Regions from separate parts of the Homo sapiens genome. Here all the other regions are linked to region 2. The links are contacts of gene promoters, found by promoter capture Hi-C in blood cells and fetal thymus (Javierre and others, 2016). All regions are on one chromosome and are shown on one strand. The core of a region is centred on a gene start or on the middle of the fragment in contact, and the rest is flanking DNA. Distances in the headings are between cores, read along the strand shown.

Region 1 (2,700 bases), core at 109-2,608, 540 kb after region 2:
CAACTGTCCTGACAGTTCTATATTAGGGCCACCATTATCTCTTGCCTGACCACTGGAAAATATTTCTAAAAGATTTGAAGATGGCTCTCTCCTTCTGGTTCTTAATGCAGTTCCCTCCTTTCGTCCCTTTGGGCTTAGAATTAGAAACACCTCTGCTGCCACTACCCCTGGGTGACTGCATCAGCCTTTGTGCCTCCTCCTTACAAGCAAACCGTCTCTGAATTGTTCTAATTTGAGGATCCCATCTCTTTCCCATTGGGATTTTAAACCCTATAGATCCTTCCATGAACACTTTCCTCCCTACAGTCTGACTCCTGTAATGACTCCTTCTCCCTCCCTTTCCTCCTTTCCTAGACGTCTGCTTACATAGCCTAGAAAGAAGGAGGGAGGAGAAAGCGGAAAGGCTCATGGTAGCAGGGCCAGTTTTGACTTTTAAGAAGCCCTGGGGATTTGTGGGGGGAACAGTGTTCTGGCTCCAGCTATTGCTGGCAATCTTTAGAATGTGGCACTAGATCCTCTTTGTCCATTGTTTGGGGTTCTACTTGTCAATACTGGAATAATAGGAAAAGTGTGATATACCATCCTATCACATATGGCCGTCTGCAGCGGGACTTAATGAAGCTTTCAAATACACAGAGGCCTTGTCACCATAGCTCTTTCTAATGCTAGTCAATACTTTCTATGTATTAGGTTTCTTGCTAAAGCTTTGCCTTGAATGTTTACATGCGGGCAATACCCAAGAACCTAACTGGAGGCAAGACAGGTGAGGGAAGCAGGACAAACACACCCAGTCTGACCCAGTCGATAATGAGTTTTCTACATCTGAGAATGTGATATTTGTGTAACACGTTACAGTTTAACAGGAGCTTTCATCCCCCTTTAGCTGGCACATGGCTGAGTAATCAATATATGTTTTCGTAAATGATTGAATGCAACTATAGAGTCATTTTCTCCTCCTCAAAATAACCCTGTGAAGTAGGCAGTGCAGGGATTATTATTCTCACTTTACAGAAAAGGAAACCAGGGCCCAAAGAAGTGAAATAGTTTCCTGAGTCCACGTAGTCAGTGACTGTATGTGCTCAAACCAGAACCAGCAGTGTCAGGCACCCATACTAGCTCATTTCAAAAGTCAGGAAGTCAGGAAGCAGGACGGTATTCTTGATAAAATAGGGAATTGGATTGGATCAAGTGCTTAAGTGTCTTCTCAGTATTAAGTCTCTATTCCTAGCCTCCCTCAATAATCTTACAGCACAGTTGGGAGCTGCCATGGAAGGGGATGGTAGGCAGAAGTTCAGGCTGCTAACCAGCTGGGAATTGAGTAAAAGGAACAAGAGAAAGGCCTTCTGGTGCCAAGACTCTGGAGAAATGTTTGTTGACTTTTGGCTTTGCATTGACTACTTCCAACTAGGCTTTGAAGCTGACTTTTTGATCCCAGGGCTCCCTGGGATGGGTGGGGGAGCTCATGACATTGTTGCTGTGGTTCTCCAGGCAACCACAAACCCTCAGTAGCTCCAGGAAGATGCCTTAATTACGTGGAAAGCGATGAGGGAACTACAGAGAAAACAAGAGATATCTACAAGGAAAGTGGGGCAAAAACAACAAGAATCTAAAGGGCAAAACAAGAGAGGCCCCAGGGGCGAAGCAACAGCCAGCACAGCAGCACTGTGAGGATGTTGATGGTGCCTCTCCTGGAGTCCTTCAGAATAAACTTGTCCCTTATAAAACTGAACTAGAAAGTGTCTAAAGGAATGAGAGCCCTAGCTCTCAGCCAAGTCTCCTAAAATAAGTTTTAAGAGATGGAGTGATGTTCTAAAAACACAGACCTAAATATTCACTCCCTTGCTCATAAGCTCTCTTTGCTCCTTGTTACCCTCCAGATAAAGTCTGTGCTCCTCGGCAGAGCTCAAGGACACTATTCAGTTCCTCTCCATGCCCCATGACTCTCTCGAATCTGGTCTGGGCATTTGTGCAAGGTTCTCCCTCCTTGGCAAATCACTACTTATCTCAAGGTCTAAGCTTCAACATTAATTTTTCTAGGAACATCCCCTCGATCCTATTCCCATCCCCATATTAGGCACAGTGTTCCTTCTGTATGTTCCTACAACATCACGATCTTTCATAATGGCCACATCGCTGGCACCGTTAGGTGCATGTCCGTCCCCTTCTCAGATACATCTCTCACATGAAGCAGAGGTCCGGGCACTTAGGAAGTGCTCATTAAGTATCTGTTGGATAAATAATAATGAGAAACAGTCAAAATCTCTAAAAGAGCCTTCTGTTTCACCAAGCAAAGAGGAAGGAAAATAACCAAGTGTGGGACATTGAGCAAAGAGATTATTTTTAACAGGAACAGAAACCCAGACAAATAAATGGCCCTTAATTTATGTCAGGGTTATCAAGAAATATATTATGCCCTTGATAATTGTGCAGTTATAATTACTTCTTCTGGAAACTGGGCTTTGTTGGAAGAAAGATTGGAGAGATTTGGAGATAAGTTTCCTTAGGAATAAACATGGAGAATCAAAATCCACCAAATGCCTGGATATCTCGGAAAAGAGATCAAACTGAAATAAGTGAGTGGACAGAACAGCCAATGTGGGTCTGACAGAGTAGCTGCGTCTAAAGGGGCAGCTGCTTCTCAGCTCCAGCCAATTGTTGAAATGCAAGAATACCAGCAGCAGCAGCCAAATCTCGTGACTG
Region 2 (2,700 bases), core at 25-2,524:
GCTATTTTGACTCCTCTTCCCATAAAGGATTCAAGAAAATTTTAAATATAGTTTTTAAGGTTTTTCAGTAGTGTCTTTGAATACTTTTAACATCTGACCTACATCTTTCTGTAAAGGACTTTAAGATGATTTCCCTCATGATATTTTCAATAGCAGTTTATGATTTGAGGTAGACGTTCTTGTTATCACTACAACCATTCTTTTTTGTTGCTGTTTCCTGAAAGAAGGTTGTGGCATCGCACTCTTTGATCTATCTTGCAATTAAATTGGCCATGAAAGATAATGTGATTCATCTAACTTTTATATGAAAAGTAAAAGGAAATATATTGCTCATTTCAAAAATTCAATTCAGGCCAGGCACAGTGGTTCACGCCTATAATCCCAGCACTTTGGAAGGCCGAGGCAGGCGGATCATGAGGTCAGGAGTTTGAGACCAGCCTGGCCAACATGGTGAAACCCCGTCTCTACTAAGAATACAAAAATTAGCCAGGCATGGTGGCAGGCACCTGTAGTCCCAGCTACTCGGGAGGCTGAGGCAGGAGAATCGCTTGAACCCGGGAGGCAGAGACTGCAGTAAGCTAAGATTGCACCACTGCACTCCAGCCTGGGCAACAGAGAAAGACTCCATCTCAAAAAAAAAAAAAAAAAAGAAAGAAAAAAAAAAAAGAAAATTAAATTCAGTAACTTTAAAAAACAAATTTTTGTTACAAATTAAAGAAAATAATTGACTTCCCTATTTATTTTGACTCAAAACTGGACAACCACTGGCATTTGACTGCTATAATGATTTAAAAATTAATAAGCTGATTCCTGCTCAGAAAATGCTTCTTCTAATGCAGTTCTAGCTACAGTGTGGAATATCTGTCTCCTTTAGGTACACCTTGGATGATCTGGACTCTAAAAATCCAAGTTACACCCAAGATTCCATTATCCTGTGGTTACTCACTTGGACCACAGACATGTAGGACCTGTCTGAAAGAAATATAAGAATCAAGTGGAAGTCAACCAGTGAATCATCCCTATAATGTAGTGAAACTTTAGAAAGAAGAGCCGGGAGGATGTATTGGTTGTTAGGAAAATGTAGGCTACCAGTAGAAAATGACATTCTCTATTAATAAGATCTGAGGTGCGACACACATAATTGTCCCAATTTTTAAGATTGATGGGGAGCATGAAGCATTTTTTTAATGTGTTGGCAGGCCCCATTAAATGCATAAACTGCATAGGACTCATGTGGTCTGAATGTATTTTAGGGCTTTCTGGGAATTGTCTTGACAGAGAACCTCAGCTGGACAAAGCAGCCTTGATCTGAGTGAGCTAACTGACACAATGAAACTGTCAGGCATGTTTCTGCTCCTCTCTCTGGCTCTTTTCTGCTTTTTAACAGGTAAGTTTTTTCTTAAAATTAAGATCCCATATTTATACTGAACTGGATATGATGAGTAGTTGTTTATCATATTTTAAATCCTAATGATTTTGATGTAAAAGACCAATTCTGAGAGATTATCATAATGATGATAATGATTGTGATGACGACAATGGTTATGGTAATAATTATTAAAATTACTGTGATTTGTTGAGCATATACTATATTCTAGGCATGTACGAAGGGATTTTATGTATTGTCTCTGAGACTCATAATAAGGTATTTCTATCTCTGTTCTTCATATAAGAAACTGTGGAACAGAGAAATTGAGAAAATCAGCAAAAGACTTGCAACTAGTAGTTAGAATCTGGAATTTGAATCAGATTCTCTTGCCATCACATTTAATGTTTGTTCCATAAAACTAGATTGGAGGATGGATAATTGCATTAAATATTGGTTTTGCTTTCCAGAACAAAGAAATATTTTCCTCCCCTTAGTTATTATTACAAAGACATTCAAATAATTAAATTAAGACAATGGGGAAATTGGAAACTCAATGAGAAAAATCTTTGAAAATATGTAATTGAAACTTAGAATGCAGAAACATATGTTTCTGGTGAGCTAAATAATCTTAGAGAAGGAGAATATCTTTGGACACTTTAGTGAGGTTCAAAGCACAATCATACTTCAAGGTTATGTTTTTTAAGACAGAACCATCGGAATGAGCAGGTCCATCATAAGCTATTTTCTTCCTTATTATTCTACTCTTTCACGTTGTAGGGCACAAAGCAAATGCTAGTTTTTAGACCTAAGACCTAGTTTCATCTCTTCTATTAATGGCCTGTGTCACTTAAAGAAATAACATAATTTTCTGAGATATTTTGTCATTTGTAAAATAATAGAAATAAAACTAAGCCCTGGGACCTTCCATATCTTATGTATCATTTTGTGTGACAGTAGCAGATGAATTTTACTACTATGCAAGATTTTAAATGGATGTACAAGTAAAAAAAAAATCAATGAGATTTAGCTGATAGAGAAGCCAGTGTTCACTGTAGCTGGTCATAATTACAAAAACAAATACACTTAGAAATACAAAAAAAATGGGTAAAGGATTCCTGTGATATTATGGAGTAAGCTTGACTACTAAAGCCAAATAACCTTAATGGGTAGTTCAATCAGTTGCTGAGATGGCAGAAAAATATATATCTGACTATGTAAAGTTTAGCTGCAAAGATAGTCTCAGAAATCAATTGTTATTTCCTTTTCTTCTCTTTACAAAGGTGAATTGATCTTTAACAGGATCTGGTTGACTAATACAGTTTACCAAAGCA
Region 3 (2,700 bases), core at 104-2,603, 520 kb after region 2:
TGAAGGAAGGACCTGGTAAGAGGTAACGGGATCATGAGGGCGATTTCCCCCTTGCTGTTCTTGTGATAGTGAGTTCTCAGGAGATCTGATGGTTTAAAAGTATGTGACACTTCCTCCTTCACTCTCTGTCTCTCCTGCTCTGCCATGTGAAGAAGGTGCTTGCTTTCCCTTCACCTTCTGCCTCTCCTGCTCTGCCATGTGAAGAAGGTGCTTGCTTCCCCTTCACCTTCTGCCATGATTGTAAATTTCCCAAGGCCTCCCAGTCATGCTTCCTGTTAAGCCTGCAGAACTATGAGTCAATTAAACCTCTTTTTTTCATAAATTACCCAATCTTAGGTAGTTCTTTATAGCAGTGTGAGAACAGACTAAAACAAATGAAGAGACCTTACTGGAAAAATGGCATCTCCGCAAACTTGAACCGCAATCTTAAGTGAATCAAAGGATACATTGGTTCTGTTTCTGGCTCCCTGAAAACAACATCTGTTAGAGCCAAGAGAAGGCAAAAAGTAGGTGACAGGATCGCAGGATGCTGTATTTTGCTGATGGAAGTAGTTTCTGGGTAAGATCTAAGCCACAAATGCTACATAGTAAGCCACTAAAGGATGGCAGAGAAAAGGTTTTCTAATCCCTGGTGTGAAAAGGATCTCAGCAATTTTGCTTCATTACTTCTGGATGATGGTACAAAATTTAGTGGAGATGAAATGCTTTCATGAACTTAACTCCCTGGTAGTTTCTAAACTTCTTAGCTCCAGAATCACAAAGGGTACAGGAAACGAGCATTGACTGAATACCTGCTAAGCTTCTATCTACTGGGCATTTTTCTTACACTAAACTCAGAAAATTGCCTAGTCTTCTCCTATCCATCTCTTCCCTACACTGCCTCCAACCCCAAATAATCTGTCATTATCTCCCTAAGGCAGAAAGATTTTGAAAATGGCCAATGGCTAGATAGTTGCACAACAAGTATCATTTGTTTTGTTATTGTTGTTGTTGTTGACACAAATTTAGAATCCCACTGTGGCCTTCTGCTTCCCCTGTTGGGGTGCTGTCCTATTTATATTTAACTCATGAAGCAACCCACCTTTAATATGGTACAGAACATATAGTAGCTAACAAAAATCCAACTAGAAGAATAATAGATTAGACAGGGCTCTTGGACAAGGAACACCAGTCCCTTTTGCTTCAGAGTAATTGCAGGTGAACCTGCAGGAAGAAGCCTAGGAAAGTTAGTATTTCCGCTACGCTAATAAAGATTTTAAAAAGTTTTCTCCCTTTGCATCTACTTTTTGTCATTGCTGGGTACCATGTGGCAAATAACGATTTATTAATATTCTTCCAGATAAAATGATCTCTGTACTCTATTAAGTCATCTAGCACCCCAAAAGGCCCATGACCACTGGGGTAGGTGTGTATTTCACTTATTTTTGTAACTTATTATTGACTTAAGGATTATTAAGACATACTGTCAAAAAGTGCTGTGTGGCAAAAGCTGATAATTACCAATTTCATGCCCATTTTCCCTTCCTCCTTCAGAATAGAAACCTAGTTTTGTCAGGGATATCGGTGTGCACTGATACAAAATTACTTTTTTCAGCCTCATTTTAAGATAGCAGTGGCCAGGTAACTAAGTTCTGGATAAGGCTTTCAGGAAGGGTAAGAGGCTCTTTTTTGTTTTTCCATATTTCCTCCCTCTTCCTGCCCGGAATAAAGACTTGATATCTGGAGCTACTTTGTCTGTCTTGCTCCTTGAAGTTGGAAGTCACATGTTAATGACGACAGAATAAAAAGATAGCAGTCTAGGACATAGGTGGTATCCTAGAACCACTTCTACAACTATAGAAAGTCAACCTACAGACTACCTGTATATGAGAAAAAACAAACCTTCATCTTGTTAAACCGTATTGGTTCAAGCTTTCCTTATTAGCCCCCAAATGTATTTCCTAATTGCATCATTCTCTGTGTGGCTAAATAAGAACAGAACAAAAAATATTCAATCAAGGTATGAAAAAAAGAACAAAACATTTAAATTCTATGACTGTCAAGGAAGCGTTCATTAAGTGTGAGGAAGGGATTACTAGGTGGCGGTCATGGGAGAGCTATGATGTCCAAGTTGGCTACAGGAGAAGGGTTTTTATAAAAGAAAACTCTAAGAATCCAAGATATTTTATCTGTGGTTTCAAACACTTCACCCTTTGTGCAATTATAAAACTGCATTATTCATTAACATTGAATTTGTTTAGTCTGTAGGAGAAATGACTGATCATTGTAAAGTGTTTCTGGGATACTTTGGAATCTATTTAATGAAAAATCAAATGAGACAGGATAACAAGTTTAAGTTCATTTGAGTCAACATCAATGCCAGTTACTCCAGAAGCAGGAAAAGAGACCAGCAGAGAGGAAGGTAATAGAAAGCTCTTGGCGCTGCTTTCCAAATTACCTCTAATCCACTAACGGGCTGGAGACATCTTACAAATGCTAATTAATTAAGCCCCCTACCAGTCAAATGATGACTGTAGGAAGACGCCTCTGTGATACAGGTCTGGACTTTAAGAGAACACAGGGGGCTAGTAATGGACATGTAGTTAAGCAGGCAGTTGTTGAAGTCCTGTAAGGTCAGTTAAGGCAGTGAGAAGCACTAACCAAAGAAGAGTACAGAATTGAGAACTTGGAGCAACGTGTGTAATCAGCAATGACCTCTTT

The links. Contacts are between HindIII fragments. The CHiCAGO score rates a contact against its expected background, and 5 or more counts as called.
Region 1: a contact is called between a fragment that was not itself captured here and the fragment with the promoter of SPINK6 in region 2, in 1 of 17 cell types (M1 macrophages). The highest score is 6.1, in M1 macrophages.
Region 3: a contact is called between a fragment that was not itself captured here and the fragment with the promoter of SPINK6 in region 2, in 7 of 17 cell types (endothelial precursors, M0 macrophages, megakaryocytes and 4 more). The highest score is 8.5, in endothelial precursors.

Annotation. Positions count from the first base shown.
Region 1 is chr5:148,738,344-148,741,043 of GRCh38, forward strand. No RefSeq gene overlaps it. Among named protein-coding and RNA genes, the nearest start is that of HTR4, 85 kb to the left of the region's middle. The HindIII fragment of the contact is 1,312 bases long and covers 703-2,014 here.
Region 2 is chr5:148,201,768-148,204,467 of GRCh38, forward strand. SPINK6 (serine peptidase inhibitor Kazal type 6) reads left to right here and starts at 1,275. Exons shown (of 4, transcript NM_205841.4): 1 at 1,275-1,387. The coding sequence starts at 1,330. The HindIII fragment of the contact is 4,979 bases long and covers 1-2,502 here.
Region 3 is chr5:148,717,331-148,720,030 of GRCh38, forward strand. No RefSeq gene overlaps it. Among named protein-coding and RNA genes, the nearest start is that of HTR4, 64 kb to the left of the region's middle. RefSeq lists an enhancer at 2,193-2,700. The HindIII fragment of the contact is 1,112 bases long and covers 798-1,909 here.